Linked DNA regions of Homo sapiens: regions 2, 3 and 4 are each linked to region 1. The links are contacts of gene promoters, found by promoter capture Hi-C in human tissues and cell types (Jung and others, 2019). All regions are on one chromosome and are shown on one strand. The core of a region is centred on a gene start or on the middle of the fragment in contact, and the rest is flanking DNA. Distances in the headings are between cores, read along the strand shown.

Region 1 (5,768 bases), core at 1,922-4,421:
GGTCAAGAGAGAAGACAGGAGGTCGGGTAGACGCTGGGGAAGACAAAAAAACAGAGGAGCGCTAGTGATGAGGAGGGCTAAAGAGTTAAGAGTCTGCCCTTGTGCCGTGGCGCACTCAGTCTGCATGTTCATTCATTTAACGAACAAACCAGGCCGAAGAAGGGCCCACTGTTAGATCAGGTCACATCTGACCCCAAATCCAAGCCCCAGCTCTACTACTTTCTAAATGTATGATCGATCTTAGGCAAACTACTTAAGTTCCTTCTGCATCCCTTCTAAAGCAGGGACACTTGCCTTATCTTACTCAAAAAAAAAAAAGTAATAATAAAAATTAAAAACAAAGTGGGGAAACAAGCCCCACTATTTCCCAAGGCACCTATGAGGAATATGTATGAAAATAATTTTGCAACCTTAAAATGATTTTTAAAAATTAGTGTTACTGTCCCTCTACAGTTTAACAGCCCTCTAATTGTGAGAGGCAAGAGGGCAGGGGAGGAACAGCATCAGAAAGGAGGGGTTCTGTCGCACACGGAGCCATCGCTCTCTCTGCCAGGCAGAGTCAGACCTCTGCTTGGACTCTATAATTTCTAGGTGCCAGAAGTGGCTGCATAACGACCCAAAGCACTGGGGCCTGCCTCGTCTCTCTAAATGGCAGAGCTTCCCCTTCAAAGTCGTTTCAGGTTGGGTGCAGTGGCTCATGCCTGTAATCCTAGCACTTTGGGAGGCTGAGGTGGGTGGATCATCTGAGGTCAGGAGTTCGAGACCAGCCTGGCCAACATGGTGAGACCCCATCTCTACTAAAAATACAAAAATTAGCTGGGCGTGGTGGTGCATGGCTGTAATCTCAGCTACTCAGGAGGCTGAGGCAGGAGAATCCCTTGATCTCGGGAGGCAGAGGCTGCAGTGAGCCAAGATTGTGCCACTGCACTCCAGCCTGGGTGACAAAACAAGGCTCTGTCTCCAAAAAAAAAAAAAAAGTCGTTTCAGAGTCAGAGCTGGGAGAGCATGTCCAGACAAAGAAAAGAAGGTCTCCTCAGAAGGCTGGTCGGCCTCATCCCAGCACTCCTGAAGAGTGACAAACTGCGGTCTACTCCTGAAGACCTAAGTCTGGTCAGAGACCAATGGCCAGTGAGCAGTCAGGCCTCTCTGGCCCTGCCCCTCAGATGCCCAGGCTGACCAGATCAGAGAAACTAGGTTGGTTGAAGAAGTCTCCAATGAACCCCAAAGGAACCCACACAGATACAGAGCCTGTGATCCAGCTGTTGACCCTAATAAGGAAGGCTTCTTCTGTTGTCCGATAAAAAGTGAAATAAGTAGGCCGGGCACGGTGGTTCACACCTGTAATCTCAGCACTTTGGGAGGCTGAGGCGGGTGGATCACCTGAAGTCAGGAGTTCGAGACCAGCCCGGCCAACATGGCGAAACCCCATCTCTACTAAAAATACAAAAATTAGCCGGGTGTGGTGGCAGGCGCCTGTTAATCCCAGCTACTCAGGAGGCTGAGGCAAGAGAACTGCTTGAACCCAGGAGGCAGAGGTTGCAGTGAGCCAAGATCACGCCACTGCACTCCAGCCTGGGCGACAGAGCAAGACTCCATCTCAAAAACAAACAAACAAAAAAGTGAAGAAAGTACATCCTAGCTCTACTCAAAAGACTGTAGGAATCAGATACTAGCCACTGTCCAGAAGCCCTCAAACACACCTCAAGGCCAAAAAACACAGCACTTTTAAGTGGCAAGCGAGGGTGGTAAAGGTAGCCCAGAACACTGAAGAGCTACAGAAGTTCCCACAAACTGCACGGCTTTCCGTCCCTTCCTCCACTGTAGATAGCAAGGGTCAGTCATGGCCTCAGAGCCAGGCTACTCCTCGTTAAGGTACAGTCTCCGGCCTGTACTTTGGCCACATAACAAAGCTTGGTCTGAGACAGCAGCTATTTCACACACCTAAGCCCCAAGCAACAGACAAGGATCAGTCAATATGGTTGAGGGAACCTGCACTTTCTGGCATGTATCGGAATTCCTCAGGCTACAATTAAAAATCCAGAACTGCCATTGTGATCTTGACTTAGTCCTCAGTAATAAGTCCAAGCCCTGAAGGGATTGCAGACAGACCCTGGCGTGGTGTGGACCTGTTGCTCAGGGAGGTGTATGTGTGTGTGTTTGGGAGTGGGAAAGAGATGGCCCTTCAATTCCAGACTCCTCATTTTGGGTCTTATTCTCCTCCCTATAGACACACGGACAGCAGTCCCAAGAAAAGCAGTCCCTTTGAGGCGGCTGGGAAACCACTCACGTGCTCTGGGAGGACAGAGCTGAGCCTGGAGCAAGGGGGGAGGGGAAAGAAGATAATGAATGGGCACATCCACCCTGATCTGTGATCTGTAGCTAGGATTGAGCAAACCTCAGCTAAATTCTTCAGAGGCAGAAAGAGAGAGACACTCAAAGAACAACATAACTAGAGGACAGGGCTGGGAGACAGAAGGGGCAAAACAGGAAAACAGCTCATTTCTAGTAAGTGACTTTAAACTCAGCTGAGGTCCTGGTTGGTTCTCTGGCTTGAGGAAAGAGAGGAAGTAAGGAGTTGCGGGAGCGCACACACACTTCTGTGCGTGTGGAACGGTCTCACCCAGACGACCCCCCTCCCCCAAAGGAAATCGAGATATTCCTCTAGGGCTAGAGGGGACAACTGGTTTTGTGGGACAGGAGGAAGGAAAACGGCGACAGACAGCACTCCCTGTCACTTCTAAAAGAGAAGAGGGACAGGTTCCTTCACACCTAGCAAAGATCCTCCGATTCTGGAAGCAGGGGGAGCGGAACTTAGGGTACCTCTCTCCCACAACTAGAATGGACAGGCCAGAGGACAGTCATAGCGGTTTCCTTAAGGCTCACCAAAGGCAGGTAAGCTAAGGAAAGAAGCTCCCCACCTCCTATGGCCCGACGCCTGGGGAGCCCCTCAAGAGGGGGCTACGGGTCGGGGGAGGGGTCAGTATCCCCCTAAACTGGGGCTGGGCGGGAGGAAGGGCTGCCCTGGAGATGCTTCAACGCAGGCGAGACACCAGGTCCTGGGACAAGCATACTCACGGCGGCTCCGGGGCGGCGGCGTTACTTGGGGCCGGGGCTCGGACGGGATCCGCTTCTCTCCCCGCCGGCGGTGTCCCAGGCTCCGGCCTCCACTTCCGCCTTTCAGCCGCTCCGGATCCGGATCTCCACCTCCGCCCCGCCCCTCAATACTCCCAGGTGATTGACAGTGCGGAGACCAATGGGAGGCACTCTTGGCCGACCTACCCAGCGGCGCCGGTAGGAACGCGGGAGTGGCGGTAGGGAGCGCGCGAGGGATCGCGGGACTTGTAGTTCGCAGCGCTGGGAGGAGTCAGTGGCTGCCTGGGACTTGGGCTTAGGGTGGAGCCGGCTGACTGCGAGGCGGAGCCCGGCCGGAACTTTTTTTTTTTTTTTGAGACGGAGTCTTACTCTGTCGCCCAGGCTGGAGTGCAGTGGTGCGATCTCACTGCAACCTCTGCCTCCCGGGTTCAAGCGATTCTCCTGCCTCAGCCTCCCGAGGAGCTGGATTATAGGCACGCACCACCACGCCCGACTAATTTTTGTATTTTTTAGTAGAGACGGGGGTTTCGCCATGTTGGCCAGGCTGGTCTCGAACTCCTGACCTCAGGTGATCCGCCCTCTTCGGCCTCTCAAAGTGCTGAGATTACAGGCCTGAGCCACCGCGCCCAGCCTACGGCCGGGAACTTTTTAAGGCTAACCCTGCCATCCGCGTCACCGCCGGTTCCGGACGCCCCGAGGGAAGGCGGGTGGTGGAGCGTTGGAAGAAGGCAGAGGATTGTGTGTGCAGAATTGGGAAAGAAAAAACGTGGTGCGAATGAATATGCACGCGAGGCCTCAGTCCTGTGAACTCGCTGATCTGGAGAAGCCCTTGTCTGCACTGTCCGCCCGATTGCCAGGGGCGTCTGTGATTGGGAAGGTGAGGAAAGCGCTGCAGGAAGAGTTCTCTGCAGGATGCTGGGTGAGATCAAAGGGAGAGCTTCTGCCACCACCTCCTACTTGGTGTGTGCGGGGGCCGGCACAAAGACCATCTCTGCCTCTGCCTTCCCCTGCTCCTAGCCAGGGTCAGCTCTTCTCTCTGACGCGGAATACAGAGCTGGACAACCTCTGCCTCGGCCCTCTCCATCCGTAAATAAAGACTAGAACCACCCCCACTCTGCACTCTCCCCCTCTATGGATCAGGAATATTTGTTTTTTCTGCTCCTCTCAATATGGACTGGGCCCGCTCCTGATTCCTCCCACCCTTACCTCTCAACACAAACCAGTACCTCCTCTTCTTTTGCATCTCATCCTCAAGGGACACTACTGAAAACCTGTGTGGAATCAAAGCTCACCGGAGACAGCTGTGGCCATTGTGCCTATAACGCCAACACCAGGCATATCCTGGAGCCTCAGCTGGAGAATTTACCTGTCTTGGACAACCTGCCACAAAACTGTGCCCACATCTAGTTCCATCTGGTCATCAGGGCGTCTCTCTTTCTTACACCCATAACACACAATCCCCACTTCCGCGCCAGTGTTCATGAGAAGTGAAAAGGAAGAGGGAAGAGAGGGCTTGTTGGGAGGACAGAGGGGATGGGGCAGAGTGGGATTCCTAGCAGGTTCTGGCTGGTGACAAGCTCTTCCCCCAGCCCCCTTGCCATACCCAGTTCTGGAACAGTTCCTTATACAGGAGGGATGGGTAGTCCCCTAGGCCCACCTTTCCAAGGCTGGAGGTGGGCCAAAGCCAGGACTCTGTCCTTCCCACATACTGTGTGCATACATGGCTGTGACTGGGGTGCAGGGGAGAGAAGGGGGTATAATAGGCCCATAGTGACTAATTAAGTTTCTTCCTCAACCCTGGGGCCCCTGGTGGTGTGAATGTGGTGCCAAGTAGATTGGCTGGTGCCTCTGCCCTTCCTAGAGATAGCAACTGGGCCCTGGGGTACAACGAAGGTGAGGGTGGGGAGTGATTGCTGTGTTGGCTCCTCCAAAGCCCTGGGGCTCTCAGAGTAACCCCCAGAAACACCCAGAGCCAATAACTACAAAAATAAAGAGTTTATTTCCTATCCAAAAGTGAGCCCAGGGTGTTGGGTGGTAGAGGAGAGCTGGAGACCTGGGCGAGTTTTGGAGCAGTCCAGGCCCTGAGTGAGACCATGTTGTAATGGGGGAGAACAGGCTTGGCAGCGGTCTGGGGTCAGGGAAAGGATAGGGAGTGCTGTTGGGATTTTTGAGTTGCTAGCAGCAGAAGAGACCACCTTGAGAGACAGCCTGCAGAGAGACAGAAACAGAGATGTTGACAGACCCACGCCTAGGAGTAGAAGCAGACATTACTGGGCCCAAAAAGCACCTGTTGGGCACAGGGACCTGGGAACACACTGTTAGGTAAGGCAGAGGTTGCAAACTCAACCCCTGGGCTCCACCCCGGACATTCCAAATTGGATGAGGCCCAGGAATCTGCTTTTTATTTTTTTATTTTTTTGAGCCTCCGCGCCTGGCAGAATCTGCGTTTTAATAGGATCTCAGGTAGTTCTGATGGACACTCAAGTTTTGAGAACTCAAATACCCACAGAGACCAAACAAAAATTTCAAACAAGGGAAGCTAGCTGGGTGTCGGGAGATGATCAAGAAACGTGGTGACTGCGAAGTAGAGTGCAGAGCAGATCCCATCTAAAGAGGACAGTGGCCACCCAGCCCAGCTGATTGCCAGTTATTGCCAGATGGAATGTTGGCCCACG
Region 2 (5,768 bases), core at 2,397-4,896, 450 kb after region 1:
AAATAGGGTTGTTGGCTGGGCACAGTGGCTCATGCCTATAATCCCAGCACTTTGGGAGCCTTAGGTGGGTGGATAACCTGAGATCGGGAGTTTGAGACCAGCCTAGCTAACATGGAGAAACTCCATGTCTATTAAAAATACAAAATTAGCCGGGCGTGGTGGTGTATGCCTGTAATCTCAGCTACTCAGGAGGCTGAGGCAGGACAATCGCTTGAACCCAGGAGGCAGAGGTTGCAGTGAGCTGAGATTGTGCCATTGCATTCCAGCCTGGGTGACAGAGTAAGGCTCCGTCTCAAAAAAAAAAAAAAAAAATTATACAACTAACATGAATTCATGTTTATCGAAAAAAAAGTACAGGCATGGTGGCTCACGTCTGTAATCCCAGCACTTTGGGAAGCCAAGGCAGGTGGATCACCTGAGGTCAGGAGTTCGAGACAAGCCTGGCCAACATGGCGAAACCCCGTCTCTACTAAAAATACAAAAAATTAGCTGGGCATAGTGGCGGGCACCTGTAATCCCAGCTACTCAACAGGCTGAGGTGGGATGACAGCTTGAGTCCGGGAAACTGAGGTTGCAGCGAGCCGTTATCGTGCCACTGTACCCCAGCCTGGGTGACAGAGCGAGACCCTATCTCAAAAAACAAAAAAGCAAAACAGAAAAAACCACCTAAACACTAACAAATTGGTTTGTGGGGAAAAAAAGAGTTTAAAAAAAAAACAACAAATAAAACCACACACAACAGGCCACATGTGGTACCTAAAGCCTGTAATCCCAATACTTTGGGAGGCCGAGGCAGGAGGATCACTTGAGTCAAAGAGTTTGAGACCAGCTTAGGCAACACAGCAAGACCTCATCTCTACTGAAAAGAAAAACATTAGCTAGGTGTGGTGGTGCACGCTTGTACTCCCATTTACTTGGGAAGCTGAGGTGGGAGGATTGCTAGAGCCAGAAGGTTGAGGTTGCAGTGAGCTCTGATTGTGCCACTGCACTCCAGCTTGGGAGACAGAGCAAGACCCTGTCTCGAAAAGAAAAAAAAAAGTATCATTTATGACATTTATAAGAAAATTGGAAATGTGAACACTGACTAGAATCATTAATTTTTTGCATGTGATAATGATGGCAGATGTTTCTTAAAGTCTCTTTTTCAGAAAAATATACTGAAATACCTAGATTAAATGATATGACACATCAATAATTTGTGTCAAACAATAAGGAAGACGTAGAAAAGAACTGGGGTATGGAAGACACAAAATTGGCCAGGAATTGAAAAAAATAATATTATGTACATGGTGGCACACAATATTATTCTGCCTACTTACACATGTTTTAAGCTTTCCATAATAAAATATTTTTAAAATGATCCATTATCCACATATGTACTCTAAAAAGTGTGAAGACAGGCTATTCTCTTCATTAAAAAATTCACATATAAAAACACTATGGTTTTAAAACTTTTTCACATAATACATAGACAATTAGCCTGATGTGGTGATGAACTCCTGTGGTCTCATCAGCCATGAGGTGGAATGATCACTTGAGCTCAGGAGTTCCAGGGTACAGTGAGCCATGATCACACCACTGCAATCTAGCCTGGGTGACAGAGTGAAACCTTCTCTCAAAAAAAACAATGAATGGGCCAGGCGCAGTGGCTCAAACCTGTAATTCCAGCACTTTGGGAGGCTGAAGCAGGTAGATCACTTGACATCAGGAGTTCAAGACCAGCCTGGCCAACATGGTGAAACCCCATCTCTACCTAAAAATACAAAAATTAGCTAGGCATGGTGGCGGGTGCCCGTAATCCCAGCTACTCAGGAGGCTGAGGCAGGAGAACTGCTTGAATCCGGGAGGCGGAGGTTGCAGTGAGCTGAGATTGTGCCACTGCACTCCAGCCTGGGCAACACAGGAAGACTCCATCTCAAATAAAATAAAATAAACTAAGACGGTGGCTCAAGCCTGTAATCCCAACACTTTGGGAGGCTGAGGCAGGCAGATCACGAGATCAGGAGATCGAGACCATCCTGGCTAACACGGTGAAACCCTGGCTCTACTAAAAAATACAAAAAATTAGCCGGGAGTGGTGGTGGGCGCCTGGAGTCCCAGCTACTCGGGAGGCTGAGGCAGGAGAATGGCGTGAACCTGAGAGGCGGAGCTTGCAGTGAGCCGAGATCGCGCCACTGCACTCCAGCCTGGGCAACAGACAGAGCGAGACTCTCTCAAAAAAAAAAAAGAAAAGAAAAATAAACGAAAAATAAACTAAGAAGGTTCCAACTTTTTTTTTTTTTTTTTTTTTGAGACGGAGTCTTGCTCTTGTTGCCCAGGCTGGAGTGCAGTGGCGCGATCTCGGGTCACCACAACCTCTGCCTCCCAGGTTCAACGGATTCTCCTGCCTCAGCCTCCCAAGGTAGCTGGGATTACAGGCATGCGCCACCATGCCCGGCTGATTTGGCATTTTTAGTAGAGATGGGGTTTCTCCATTGTTGGTCAGGCTGGTCTTGAATTCCCGACCTTAGGTGACCTGCCTGCCTCGGCCTCCCAAAGTGCTGAGAATTATAGGCATGAGCCACTGCGCCCAGCCAAAAGTTTCCAATTTTTTGATGTAATAAAAGCTGAACTATACATCACTGAGCATGTTACTGGGTCAAAGGCATTAACTATTTTAAACAAATAGCTTTATTGGTCGGGCACCGTAGCTCACACCTGTAATCCCAGCCTTTGGGAGGCCGAGGCAGGTGGGTCACTTGAGGTCAAGAGTTCAAGACCACTTTGGCCAACATGGTGAAACTCCATCTCTACTAAAAATACAAAAATCAGCCAAGACATGGTGGTGCACGCCGGTAGTCCCAGCTACTTGGGAGGCTGAGGCAGGAGAACTGCTTGAATCTGGGAGGCAGAGGTTGCAGTGAGCTGAGATCATGCCACTGCACTCCAGTCTGGGCCACAGAGTAAGACTCCGTTTCAAAAAAAAAAAAGTAAGAAAATAGCTTTATTGAGATAATGGTTTGTATACGATAAAATTCTCTTTCAATTCATCTGCCAGCAGCAGAGATGAAAAAAAAATCACAATGCTGTACGACTAATAGCCTTATGTAATTTCAGAACATTTTCATCACTCCAAAAGAAACCCATACCCATTAGTATTCTTTCTCCATTTCCCCCAGCCCTGGAAAAGCTTCTTAAGTGGCTTAAAATATGTTACCAAACTACTTGCTAGAAAGGCTGTCCAATTTATGTTCCTATCAGCCATATGCCCATTTTTCCATATTTTCCCCAGAATTAATTATGATCATTAAAAATACTTAAGGCCAGGTGTGGAGGCTCACACCTGTAATCCCAGCACTTTGGGAGGCCAAGGTGGGTGGACTGCTGGAGCCCAGGAGTTCAAGACCAGCCTGGGCAACATGGTGAAACCTTGTTTCTACGAAAAATACAAAACAATTAACCAGGTGTGGTGACACACACCTGTAGTCCCCACTACCTGAGAGGCTGAGGTGGGAGGATGGCTTGAGCCCAGAGGTTGAGGTTGCAATAAGCCATGATCACACCACTGCTCTCGAGCCTGGGCGACAGTGAGATCCTGTCCCCCGCCAAAAAAAAAACTTAAGATAGAAATTAGTAAATAATTTCCATTTACATATATTTGAATTCTTTTCTTATTTGTGAGAGTGAAATTTTATATATCCATTGATTTTTTTTTCCCCTTTTGTGAACTGTCCCTCCACTCTGTCAGGGACTAAAATCCAATTAAATGATCAGTCTAAATAAAATATCCCTGGAATAGCAATTGGTGTCCAGAAACATCGTGAGAAATTCCAGAACCAAACATAAACTTTTGTGATTAACTATACCATGGAGCCTCACTATTAGTACCAGTAAATTAAAGTTTGCTATAATCATAAATAATGACCACATGTCTATTTTCAAAGACATGATTTCTAGGTTCCTTTGTTATTACAGATTAAGATTGTCTCAAGGGCACTTCAAAACAAAGCATCCCATTCTACAGGGACAGAAAGCCTGTTACTGTACAGCACTTGTGACCGCCTGGTTAATGAGCCCAAGTCACCGGTAAATTCAAAGGAAAAATTAACCCAACCTATATCATGCAGTGACAGTTGTTGCTTGCAAAAAAACCAGAAATGAAATCAGCTAGCTGCTAACAGTGGAGAGAAAGCACTCAACCATACAATTAGGGCAGATAAAAACTAAAGGTAAAGAGAGGGGAAGTAAATAAACCAAGGCATCCTTGGGAGTCTTCTCGGCTCACAAAGACAAGAACCCTGCAAAGACTATCATCAGGAACATTCACTCAACAGATTTCATTAGAAATCTGATGTGTAGCCGGGCGCGGTGGCTCACGCCTGTAATCCCAGCACTTTGGGAGACCGAGGCGGGCGGATCACGAGGTCAGGAGATTGAGACCATCCTGGCTAAAACGGTGAAACCCGGTCTCTACTAAAAATACAAAAAATTAGGTGGGCATGGTGGCGGGCGCCTGTAGTCCCAGCTACTCGGGAGGCTGAGGCAGGAGACTGGCGTGAACCCGGGAGGTGGAGCTTGCAGTGAGCCGAGATCGCGCCACTGTACTCCAGCCTGGGCGACAGAGCGAGACTCCGTCTCAAAAAAAAAAAAAAGAAAAGAAATCAGATGTGTAGATTTTTTTTAACAGAACAAATATCTCTACTTAAATGGGCTCCCCATCTTCCATTTCTTGTTTCTATTATTTTTTACTCAAATCCTAACCTTCTAACTCAGAATTGCTGTATATCCTTAATCACTTTTTTGGGTCATTTTTATTTATTTATTTTTTTGGGGGGGCGGACAAAAATAAAATTTTTACATTTCATTTGTGAAATAACAAATTCTATAATAACCTCCTAGAAATACAGTATGGTTCACTGAGACTAGTGACTGCAAAAAGCAGATCCCAACAGAGATCTCTACTTGGGACTCAGCTTGTGGACTGCTCCAAAACAATATTCCTAATTCATAGACTATGTAGATTCACAGATTGTTAAAAACCACAAAGCAGTCAAGGTGCAGTGGGTCATGCCTGTAATCCTAGCACTTTAGGAGACCAAGCCGGGAGGGCTGTTAGAGATGAGGAGTTTGAGACCAGCCTGGGCAACATATTGAGATTCTGTCTCTACAAAAGTTTTGCAAATAGGCTGGGCCCAGTGGCATGTGCCTCTAGTCCCAGCTACTTGGAAGACTGAGGCAAGAGGACTGCTGGAGCCCAGGAGGTAGAGGCTGCAGTGAGCTATGATTGTGCCACTGCACTCCAGCCTGGGCAACAGAGGGAGACCCTGTCCAGCCCAACAACCCCCGATTCCCCAGCAAAAAAAAAAAAAAAAAAAAAAAACTGAAAGAGCTCAGCAGTTATGTAGGCCTCCTTGAACTATCTCTTCATGTTAGGTGGGAGAGGGAGCTTGGAGTTCACACATTTCCAGTGTTCATTTACCCTCCTCTGATCTCAGAGTACAAGTCAAACCAAAAAGTTACCCAAACCTGTTCTTTTCTGATCCTGTCAGGATACATGCTTGTTGACTCTCACATTCTTCCCCCAAATCACTCATTCACAGATGAGGTTGAGACTAATGAAAACACAAGCTATTGGAAGGAACGGCCTGACATTTCTATTATTATGCTAGAGACAATAACAGATCAGTGACCAGAAGTAATCTAGGCTGGAAGACCTCTGATATGGCCACCATAAATTCTCTGGTACCTGAAAAAAAAAAAAGTATGAAAACCTTGGAATACTATGGTGA
Region 3 (5,768 bases), core at 1,684-4,183, 320 kb after region 1:
AGGCCTAGCAGTCTGTATTTACTAGGTGATCCGGAGGCATGCTAGTTTGAAAACTGCTGGGCTAGAGAAGGTCTGCTGAGGATGTGATACATTCCTCACTAATTTAAGGATTTGACTCAGAAGCCATTTAATTAAAAGGATCTGCTGGGTCAAGGGAAAGGGGAAAAACTCATATGAATTTAATTGCCTGGTCCTTTCAAGAGTCAGAAGGTACAAATATTTATTTAGTTTGCTCACAGAGTCGAGAATTTTGAGACTAGTGGTAACTTCTTTCGCCAGTCCCTAATGACATCACGTTAGAGGGTGTGGGACAGTGTGATTAACTCTAAGTGTTTAAGGTCTTTTGCAATAGGCATCGCCACTTAAGCTGTATGTTTTTAATGAACCTGGAATTCCAGCATGCTCACTGCCCAGACGTTATTGTATTTTTGTTCACTAATTCACTGAGCATATAATGAGCACCTACTTATTGTGAGACACAAGATGAGTAAGACATGGTCCCTGTGTTTAAGGAATGTATCATTCAGTCTTAAGAAATACCCCAGAACATGACGCTTTCATATGCTCACAGATGTGTGCTTTTCTAAACATATCCAAGCTGCTACCCACAGATCTGATGTAAACCTGGCCTTGTAGTCAGAGCTCAGCTACCTTTTAGCATTATTTGGAGCTTAATTCTTTTACCTTCCCTGTCCCCATTTTTTTCCCTTTTGATATACTGTTTAGTTTACTGCTGAGATATTGCTATCTCATATGAAAATGTCTTTCAAGACCTCGTAAGTTTAAGAATGAGAGCCAGCTTCCTATTATGGTTCATTTTTGGAGAAATTCCGAATAAAGACTGATAGATGGATTCCCTTAAGGGAAATAATTATTTAAACTATTAATTTTCTAATGAAAAGAACTTAGTAAAAATGAAAATAAGAGGAACCACTTGGAAAAATGATATTTTAAAATCATAATTTATGGATTTAGGACTTTTATTTTGTGAATAATAAGTCTAAACACTAAATGCCTGTTTTGAGAAGGCAGACTCTAAGTCTTCATGATCTTTGTGCCCTTTTCATGCTGGGGTTGTTTTCCCTCTCCTATTTTTTTTTTTTTTGAGACAGAGTCTCGCTTTGTCATCCAGGCTGGAGTGCAGTGGTGCGATCTTGGCTCACTGCAACTGCCGCCTCCCGGGTTCAAGCGATTCTCCTGCCTCAGCCTCCCGAGCAGCTGTGACTATAGGTGTGTACCACCATGCCCAGCTAATTTTTGTAGTTTTAGTAGAGACGGGCGTTTCACCATATTGGCCAGGCTGGTCTCGAACTCTGACCTCGTGATCTAGCTGCCTCAGCCTCCCAAAGTGCTGGAATTACAGGTGTGAGCCACCGCACCCAGCCTCCCCCTCCTATTTTATTCAAAACTTTTTTTTTTTTTCCAGTCTCTGGAAGTACTTAGAGCACAAGACCGTGGCTATGAGAGGTTCTTATGCTGCTTTTGTCATCAATTCCCCTTCCATTCCCAGCAGTCTCACTGCATTGCAAGTCTCCTGGCAAGAACCTCTCTGCCTTGCCTGTTCTTGCACTAGCTCACAGCCTCAGCCAGGTTCCTTTCCATAGACCTTGCCCTGCTGCTGCGTAGCAGCAGGCTCAGGTGTCACTGCCACAACTTTGCATCTGCACATGCGCGTGCACTTCAAATAATGCGAAAGATAGGACACTTGGGACCCTCAAATGTTGGAAACTTAGGATTTTTAATGAGATTTTCTTCTGTGTCTGAAATTATAATATTTGCAAAGGGCCTAAAACACTACCAGTTTTAAACCCCTTATTTTGTGTAATTTGGTGACTATAATCAATAATTCACAGTAATGAGTTAGCAGAAATGGCTAAATCAGAAAATGATTCTATATTTAGGCATAGGAGTTATGATTGGCAGGGTGTGTGTAAGGTGAAAAATAAACATATTGAATAGTCTTATGATTAAAGATGATTACAAATTTGACTTAGTCATTTCTTATCTAGGGCATTTAAAATGACTTGTTAATGATTATCCTTTTCTAAGTCTTCTTGCTTATGAAGAACTGTAAGAGCTGGAGAGATTTCTCTGCATCTTTTACCATAAGCACCATAACATATGAGAACATAAAGAAGACTGGAAAAGTAATGGTTAATGGCATGCAGATTCCCTGCTTTCCTTTCCTTCTCAGTTTTCCATCCATCTGCTTTCTTTATTTTTTTCCCATCTGCCATTTCCTTTGGGGCCTAGGTGAATACCTTAAGTAATGAAATATAATTTTTTTCTCGATGTAGATGGCAGTAATTGTTTGTTCTTGGTAATTGACATAGCTTGAACTGGATGTGCTATTTATACTTAATTGCTGTAGAAACAGAACTGAAGTTCTTCTACTTCCTTTTTGTAAGGCGTGGTTTTCAGTATCTGAATGGAGAAACCAGAGGGCATAGCAGTAATGTAGAGGCATATTCACAATGTTGTTATTAGAGAACCCAGATACCCTTAAGACAAGCTTGTCCAGCCCATGGCCTTCAGGCCTCAGGACAGCTTTGAATGTGGCCCAACACAAATTCGTAAACTTTCTCAAAACATTATGAGATTTTTTTGGAATTTTTTTTTTTAGCTCATTAGTTATCATTATAGTGTATTTTATGTGTGGCCCAAGACAGTTCTTCTTCCAATGTGGCCCAGGGAAGCCAAAAGATCAGACACCCCTGCTCTAAGATTTAGATACTTTCAACCACATGGTTTTAGATACTGCTTTAAAGGCCTTCAGTTAGTGAGTGGTTCTAGTCATCCTAGTTTCTCACCAGGCACAATTTTACTTAAAAATTTGTAACTTTTCTCTCTAAGATAGAATTCTTAAGTATGAAGTGGTGAAATTAGCAATTCAAATATTATCGCAAGTTTCTGTTGAATTTTAATTTTGTTGTTTTTTATTCTCAGAGAGTCCTAGATAGAGTCTTTGAAGTGGTCTAGTTGCTAAGTACTGTTTGCTTTTCCATCAGTTAGAGCACATGTGTTTGCATTGAGTCCGATATTTAGGGTTGACTTAAACCACGTCTTGTGAGACAGGCAGGCAAGTAGGATGGAGTCTTGTGAGTAGTCAGGCTCACTGGTTTTTGCCAAGGGATAAACCAAGAACAAGTTGAAATGTTGTAATCATCGGGATCCTGAAAACAAGTTGCTTGTAGTCAGCTGATTTGATTGCAAGTAGAAACCGAAAGAACCCCCTCAACTTACATGTAACAGCCAGTGGTAACTAGTGTCTCCATGATCTCATCTTAAACTTTTCCAATCTCATGACAGTATTTCTCTGCACTTCTGGTGTTGATCCTTACTTCCCAAAATGATTGCTTTCTATTTTTTAGGCCTTCAGACTTATCATCTGGTTTATACACAGTTTTTCCCCCTTTTTGCTATGTTTATGATCCCATGACTTTATCAAGTTATGGTCCCTGTGCCACTTTTTAAGAGTGTGGCTGACAGGGGTAGAATCAAATTGAAATTTGGAATGAAAATGATAGAGAAAAACTCTTCTGATTTTTTGTCTTATTGTGCTTTTGAAGAGGATGATTGTTCTGGTTTACTCCTAGTTTTTGGTCAAACAAGTATTGCCTGGGTATTAGAGTTGGGGAGATGAGGCAATGGAGAAGTTGATTGGACTGGTTTTTGTTTTGTTTTGTTTTGTTTTGTTTTTTGGAGCAGCTTCTCCTTTCTGATGGGAGTAAAGGGTGGTAGGATGAGTTCGGTAGAGAGAGGCTAGGAAATGTAGACCTGCGTGTGGGAAGATCCTTCTTCATTTCATTGTATAAACTGTCATGGTGGAAGTCATTTTAAATCTTACCAATTAAACCAGCCCATGAACTCTAGTTTGGTTTATTATCTGTTGTTTTTCCTTCACTTTACTTGATTCTTGAGCTGTGTTCTCAAGAATCCTACAACTGTAAAGCCTATGTGAACTTATTTAGAAGATTCCTAGTCAGAAAATGGGACATTCAGATATGTTTTTACAGGCCTGCCCAGCTATTGTGCTTCTTATCCTTTTGAAGACATAAATACTCTTTAAATCCCATGGCTTGGATCATTCTATAAGTGGCCATGCTGAAAGTTCTCATATTCTGAATTTTAAAGGGGCTGGAAACGTAGATACCTGGAGCTTCCCCTTCTGTCTTTCTCCAGACTTCACAGCATTCAAAGACAGTGGCAGTGCCTTGCTTCTTCCTTGGAAAGAGAGCCTCTATCTTTCACATTCTCACGTAGGGAAAATTCTAGTTTGTAGCTGCCTAGAAATTAAATGTTCAGAGTATCTGCAGAGTCTCTTCATTATTGCACAGAAAGAAGAGATATTTTAGCTTCCTATCTACATGCAGAGGTATTTCCTGGCACTTTCATCATTCATTCAGGGAAACGTAGGAGAGAAAATGGCTTCCACCAAGTAACAGATTTATACATGTCACCATCACTTAATTTTTTTTCCTTTTGCTCCTTATTTCTAAAACCATTTCCCCAGATGCTTTACTGGGGCAATTATGCTTTCTTTACCTCAAATTTATTTTCTGTGTTTTCATCCCCTATTCTTCTTGTCTTTTTATGGATATATCTTGTCTTTTCGTGGTTTGTTTTCTTTTTCATCCTTATTTTCTGAACCTGTCTCCTGGTTCCTCGTTGCCTGCATGCCACTAACTATTTTCATTAGATATTAATTGATTTGTGAATTCAGGCTGAATTGCATCATCAGCAGATGGCGGATCCAGACTTGTTGGAAGAGTCCTCATCCCTCTTGGAGCCAAGTGAGATGGGAAGAGGCACTCCTTTAAGACTTGGGTAAGTGCCATGTCAACTTTTCGGTATTCAGTGGGGCCATGTTCATCTCTTCTGTTCAGAAGAGCAGTGAGACTGGGGATTCACTTGCTACCAGGATATGCCCTCTTCTGAGCCTATTGAGATAGTCCTACAACTCTGGATTCATGCCTGAGTTGCTCTGTCAGCTCTCTGCTGGGTCCATAAGTGAAGCTGGGAATAAGACTTGTATTAAACCAACCCAAATGTCCATCAATGATAGACTGGATTAAGAAAGTGTGGCACATATACACAATGGAATACTATGTAGCCATAAAAAATGATGAGTTCCTGTCCTTTGTAGGGACATGGATGAAGCTGGAAACCATCATTCTCAGCAAACTATCACAAGGACAAAAAACCAAACACCACATGTTCTCACTCATAGGTGGAAATTGAACAATGAGAACACTTGGACACAGGAAGGGGAACATCACACACCGGGGCCTGTTGTGGGGTGGGGGGAGGGGGGAGGGAGAGCATTAGGAGATATACCTAATGTAAATGACGAGTTAATGGGTGCAGCACACCAACATGGCACATGTATACATATGTAATGAACCTGCACGTTGTGCACATGTACCCTAGAACTTAAAGTATAATAAAAAAAGATATATATATAAATATAAATAAAAAAGACTTGTATTAAAACCTTCCATCCCATGACATGGAATAGAGTTTCCAATCTGCCTCTTCTCCCCACAGCTTCGTGGCTGGTGTCATTAACCGGGAGCGCATCCCTACTTTTGAGCGCATGCTTTGGCGGGTATGCCGGGGAAATGTGTTCCTGCGACAGGCTGAAATCGAGAACCCCCTGGAGGATCCTGTGACTGTAAGACAAGGAGATTGCATCCTGTGGAGTAGGTCTTGTAAAGGGAGCCCAGAGCAGTAACGTAGCATGGGGCCACCTGAATCCAGTGCTTCCA
Region 4 (5,768 bases), core at 1,859-4,358, 300 kb after region 1:
AAGATAAAAAACCACATTTAATAATTTCACTACAGTGACAATTCTTGTAACATTTTGAGACTCTATCAGTTAGATCCCTACCTCTGTTCTATTCTTTTTGTGGTAGTGAAGAACTAATCTTTATAACTGTTTTTTTTTTTTTCAGACTCAGTTTTGCTCTTATTGCCCAGGTTGGAGGGCAATGGCGCGATCTTGGCCACTGCAACCACCGCCTCCTGGGTTCAAGTGGTTCTCCTGCCTTAGCCTCCTGAGTAGCTGGGATTATAGGCATGCACCACCATCCCCAGCTAATTTTTTGTATTTTTAGTAGAGATGAGTTTTCACCATGTTGGCCAGGCTGGTCTCAAACTCCCGACCTCAGGTAATCCACCCGCCTCAGCCTTCCAAAGTGCTGGGATTACAGGCGTGAGCCACCACACCTGGCTTTAATTGTTTTTTAGCCATTTTCACAAATGCTAGGGAATAGCTCGGTTTAGATACTCGGAACTGTGTCACTGGCCAAGCCTCATATGGAATTGCTCATGTCTTCTAGGGCTGTAGGTGTGGTCAACAGCATTTTAAATTTGATCTTATTGGACATATGCCTCAGTTTTACCATATCATCTGTTATATGGGGATAATAATAGTAACTGCCTCCTAATGTTGTTGTGAGGATTAAATGAGTTTGTATTTACCAAGCATGTAGAAAAGTGCCTGGCACATAGTAAGTATTAATCACTGCACTCCTCTCTCTCTTGCCATTTGGGAAGTTTCTTTCTCACTGAACCATGAGCTCTCCAAGGATAAGAAGCATGTCTGTTTCATTTTCTATCCCCAGCACCTAGTACCCCTCTCTGGCACACAGTAGGCCCTCAGCAAGCATCTGCTGCCTAAAAGGCACTATCAAGCAGGCAGTATGAAATTCCATTTCTGAGTCTTGAAGAAGGAAGTCAGGTGGAAAAACAGATAAGAGTCCTACACATAAACGTTTAAGCTTGACAACACTCAAGACCATCAAGGAAGACAGCATGGAGGGAAAATAAATAGAACACTGAGGAAAGATTGATGGCAGGAGATGGAAGCAAACAGAAAAGGAGTTCTGAAACAATATTCTTTCAAAGAAGCCGTGAAAAGAGTTCAAGGGAATTGAAGTAAGTCCACAGGAAAGGCTGTCTTAAAAGTGGAGTATGAAAAATTTGTGGTTAGCAAGCAGCTGACTGAGGTTAATTTTTTTTTAAGTCTCAGAGGAAGGAAATGATATTGTGTAACAGTTTTCTCTAACTTGGCAGGCTTTTAAATGTGGGTCCCGATCTGTCTTGCCAGAAGGGTTGAGAGCTAGGGAGCAGGGAGAAGGAGGGTATGGGTCTCTCCAAGACTCTGTGTCTTAAGAAGGTTGTATTGAAGTCAGGTTATATCTTCACTCACAATATGAGACAATAAATTCAAATAAAACGTCCATTTTTGTCCCCTTATTTTGTTTAGGCTGGTAAAGCAGGTTTGATGATGTTTTTGTCAGGTTGACAAAATTATCAGCAACAAGTTTTTATCTGGAATATCTCCCTCATTACACTTGAATTTCAACAGGGTTCCACCACCCAGGAAGACAGAATAACCGGTTTTCTGAGTTTTTCCTGATACAATTCTGGTTATCACAAACGACTTGAGATCCCTACTCTTCTTTAAAAGGGCAAGAAAAGGGAATCAATATCAATATTTGATAATGGCATTTAAAAAATAATAGACATCACTTTTGCGTTTAAAAAATGTTTTTCAATATTTAATTTACAAGTTGAGTACAAGCCATAAAAAATGTTTTTAAAATAAATTTGAGGAATTGAAAACTCCTAAGTGGTCAATTGAGCCCACATGAATCTACCAAACAAGACTGAAATGTACTTTCACAACATATGGTCTGATGAGGTTTTTCCTGTTAAACAGAGAAAAATAGACCCGGGGAAGTTGCTGGAAGGCATGAACCATGTACCATTTAAAGAGAGGTTTTCCATACTTATGCAAATGAGACCCCGTTAAAGACTCTACTACAGGATCTAAAGCTAGCCGCTCCCCAGTCTGGGGCTCAAATGTTCTCATCTGTAAAATAAGGGAAAAGAGAAAGGGTGGTATATGTGTCTGCGTATTAATTATTTGAGTGTGTGTGTGAATTCTTTGGATATGAAAATAAAGAGAGAAGACATTAATTATTTGGGTGCGTATGTGTGAATTAATTCTTTGGATATGAAAATAAAGAGAGGGCCGGGCGCGGTGGCTCACACCTGTAATCCCAGCACTTTGGGAGGCCGAGGCGGGTGGAGGCCAGGACCAGTCTGGGCAACATGGCGAAACCCCATCTCTACAAAAAATACAAAAATAGCCGGGTGGCGTGGTGCGTGCCTGTAATCTCAGCTACTAGGGAGGCTGAGGCAGGAGAATCCCCTGAACCCGGGAGGCGGAGGCTGCAGTGAGCCGAGAACGCGCCACTGCATTCCCGCCTGGGAAACAGACCATCTAAAAAAAAAAAAAAAAAAAAAAAAAAAAGGCCGGGCGTGGTGGCTCACGCTTGTAATCCCAACACTTTGGGAGGCCGAGGCGGGTGGATCACGAGGTCAGAATTCGAGACTCAGCCTGGCCAACATAGTGAAACCCCGTCTCTACTTAAAAAAAAAAAAAATACAAAAATTAGCCGGGCATGGTGGTGCGTGCCTGTAGTCCCAGCTACTTGGGAGGCTGAGGCAGGAGAATCGCTTGAACCCGGGAGGTGGAGGTTGCAGTGGGCCGAGATCACGCCACTGCACTCCTGCTTGAGCAACAGAATGAGACTTCAAAAAAAAAAAAAGAAAGAGAAAAGACAACCTACCCCAGTATAAGGGGTAAGAAAAAGGATTCAGGGAGGCTCAGGAACTTAAGGCCTCGAGCACCTGCACCTCCAGCCCCACCCGCTAACCCTCCCCAGCGTGGAGATACAGCACAGGGGCCAACATGGCGTCAGCACGCTGGGTCTCGCCTGCGACCCCCGTGACTCCGCACTGCTGCAGCCCGGGCGAGGCTGCGCCCCATTGGCCAACTGCAATGAGGTCATTGCGGGGGCGGGGGCCGGCGGCGGCGCAGGGGCGGGGCTTTACGGACGCAAGCACGTCGAAGCGCTGCTCCTGGAGCCGCGGAGGGTGCGGGTTTGGCTGCGGTGGTTTCTGTGGCGGTTGCTGTGGCGGAGTTTGGAGGTGAGTGGGGGCTGTAGGTTTAGCGCAACAGGGAGCGGCCCTCGATGGACGTAGGAAATCCTTCTAAGAGCCCCCTTGATTGTCAGAGGAATTAGCGGGGATCTGACGTCTTCGAGATAAAATGGGGGTTCGCCCCCTCCTTGGGCACCCCTCCTCTGCCCTGAGGAACCGGAGGCTCACTGCCCTTTGGAAGCCCCGCATCTCTTCCCTGCTTTAAGGGGTAGGCGGAGGAACCGGAGGTTATTGGATAGGCAGAAGAATTTAGGGGGCTTCTTAAAGGGTTTCTCAGTTTGGGGGTTTTCCTCTCCTTTTTTCCCATCTCAAGGTAGATGAGCCTGAGTCCAGAGAATTCCTGCTCATTGGGTAGACAGGAAATGAAGCAGGTGAATACCGTGGGAGGAGGCGAGGACCGGATGACAGGAGTGAGATTCTTCTAGGCAGGGCGCGGGGGCGCTGTAGTTGGACTCATCTTTTGCAGAATTGCTGTTTCTTCATATTTTGTTTTGTGATCGTCCAGAACTACTTTGGCCTAATTAGTTTTCTGTTAGCCTCCATTGCTATAGAGATATTCTTGGGAGACCTATAATCATTAAAGAGCAGGAGGACGGAGGCGACTCGTTGGAGGCTTATCATTATCCACAGCTCCTGAACTATGCTGACCAGGCCTAATTTTATGTGTTTAGAGGTTGTAGAATCTCTCTTTGTTTAAGGGTGGTGCCGGTAACAGCTGATTTGGATGATTCAGATGTACAGAATCTTAAAGTCAGCCTGCATATTCTCTTGAGAAGTCCTTGCTTATGTCTGAGCTTGTGTTACTGTCTTGAACATCACATGCACAAAGGTTTGTTCGTTCAGATTTCTCAAAATGTCTCCCAGCCTTCCAGAAGAGTAAATCTTCCTTTGATGTCAGACTCATCTATCAGTACTCAGTATAGATGCCCTTATGACACTAAAAATACTGTGCATTTTTCTGAGTTTGGATACTGGACAGGCTGTGCCTTACATTAGCTGATCGAGAATAAATAATTGCAGTTTCAGGACCACTGATAGCGCCAGTTGTCTCATACCCGGCAACAGTAAGACAGCACTAAAACGAAACCTTTATTGGCTCATGAGATTTGACAGATGGAAGAATGTAATTAATCTTGAAGGTAGGGTTGAGAAACAGAAAGCTGCAGAGGTGGAAGGCTTATTCTCTGTGGCTTGATAAAACTGCTTTGTCATTATCAGTGTGTTCCTGTCATGCTTGATTTGAAATTGAGCTTAATATGCAAACTGGTTGCTTTTTCCAGATGACGGTTATTTGTTTGAATTCCTAAGTGGGGAAATATTGTTTTCTGAGGAATCTGGAAGATTAAACCCTTTAGTGTAGCCATAGCTTTAGGATAGTGCCAGAACTTTGGGCTTTTAGAAATGCGCATTGTCAGTAGAAGGGAGAAGGATAGTTACAAGGCAGACATCTTTATGAGAGGGTATTGAAGGCCTCTTCTGTTTGTTTCCTGCACTAGCAAAAACAGATTGAGCAGTGTGAAACTCACTGCCTCAATATTGTGTCCTGGGTATTTAAAGAGTTGTTTGAGGTTCCCAGTTCCTGTCTTTAATCTGGATACATTCTTATCAGTTGAGTTGCCCAAAATAATTGTCATTTGATCCTGATGTTGACTGGAATGGAAGTGACTTTTCATCTGACACTCTGTGGGACAGAATTCAGGAACTGCCTTTGCAATTTCTCCTTTCCATCTTTCTAGACAGGGTGTCAAAAACAGTTGTTGACCTGTCCTCATGGGGTGTTAGAAATGTAAATGCAAGAGCCGTAGTGGGGTGTCATTTGCTCTTAGCCCTCGTGGTAATTTCCAAAGTTATGTCATTTTCTCTTTGCTTCAGGTTGGAGAGAAATCCAGGTACTCACTAGACTGGTACCTTCTGCCACCATGGGGGAGCTTTTCCGGAGTGAAGAAATGACACTGGCCCAGCTTTTTCTACAGTCAGAGGCTGCTTATTGTTGTGTCAGTGAATTAGGAGAACTTGGAAAGGTTCAGTTTCGTGACGTAAGTAGTTGTGGGGCTGCGACTTGATTACTGCTGAACTCTATTGCTATCGTGGTCAGATGCCTTATGATGAATGTTTTGTTTTTTATTTGCAAAAATAACATTATAGCACTGACTTCCTATTGGCAGAATGCACATTTTGAGTTGTCTTTCTAAAGGTGAGAATGTTTTGTGCCAATCTTTACATGCTTTTGCTAGCTCCCACTTTCAGAACAGTCCTAAGCATTCTCCAGGTAATTGTTTGGGATGCAGGGAGAGGTTACCAAACTAACCTGATCAAGGCTTTCACTTGCTAAATAGCAAGGTATTTAAAAAAATATATTGCAGTTTTTCCATATAGTAGGACATTTTAAAAAAAATAAAATTTGAGGTATCCAGCTACAGATATATAGTATATAAATAAGCATATACTGAATATTCATTATTTTGGAATATTATACTGGGCACTTGGAGAAGCTATCTAAAGAATATGGACAATCTAGCCTGGGTACAGTGGCTCACGCCTATAATCCTAACACTTTGGGAG

Evidence for each region. Contacts are between HindIII fragments. The study calls those that stand out against the background at their distance.
Region 2: a contact is called between a fragment that was not itself captured here and the fragment with the promoter of RAB5C in region 1, in 4 of the 25 tissues and cell types used here (H1 embryonic stem cells, heart right ventricle, lymphoblastoid cells and 1 more).
Region 3: a contact is called between a fragment that was not itself captured here and the fragment with the promoter of RAB5C in region 1, in 1 of the 25 tissues and cell types used here (liver).
Region 4: a contact is called between the fragment with the promoter of ATP6V0A1 here and the fragment with the promoter of RAB5C in region 1, in 2 of the 25 tissues and cell types used here (dorsolateral prefrontal cortex and spleen).

The regions. Positions count from the first base shown.
Region 1 is chr17:42,151,818-42,157,585 of GRCh38, forward strand. It overlaps RAB5C (RAB5C, member RAS oncogene family), which reads right to left and starts at 3,172. Exons shown (of 6, transcript NM_004583.4): 1 at 3,076-3,172. It overlaps RAB5C-AS1 (RAB5C antisense RNA 1), which reads left to right and starts at 2,583. Exons shown (of 3, transcript NR_187282.1): 1 at 2,583-2,892; 2 at 3,182-3,291; 3 at 3,951-5,106. KCNH4 (potassium voltage-gated channel subfamily H member 4) reads right to left here. Exons shown (of 17, transcript NM_012285.3): 17 at 5,074-5,301. RefSeq lists enhancers at 2,624-3,244, 3,154-3,448, 3,331-3,440. The HindIII fragment of the contact is 20,335 bases long and covers 1-5,768 here.
Region 2 is chr17:42,599,360-42,605,127 of GRCh38, forward strand. All of the region lies in intron 1 of RETREG3 (reticulophagy regulator family member 3), which reads right to left. Among named protein-coding and RNA genes, the nearest start is that of RETREG3, 7.1 kb to the right of the region's middle. The HindIII fragment of the contact is 8,726 bases long and covers 1-5,768 here.
Region 3 is chr17:42,472,916-42,478,683 of GRCh38, forward strand. It overlaps ATP6V0A1 (ATPase H+ transporting V0 subunit a1), which reads left to right. Exons shown (of 22, transcript NM_001130021.3): 6 at 4,745-4,827; 7 at 5,548-5,674. Among named protein-coding and RNA genes, the nearest start is that of ATP6V0A1, 17 kb to the left of the region's middle. The HindIII fragment of the contact is 4,239 bases long and covers 815-5,053 here.
Region 4 is chr17:42,455,770-42,461,537 of GRCh38, forward strand. It overlaps ATP6V0A1 (ATPase H+ transporting V0 subunit a1), which reads left to right and starts at 3,109. Exons shown (of 22, transcript NM_001130021.3): 1 at 3,109-3,194; 2 at 5,079-5,242. The coding sequence starts at 5,126. RefSeq lists an enhancer at 2,729-2,818 and a silencer at 2,969-3,178. The HindIII fragment of the contact is 16,608 bases long and covers 1-5,768 here.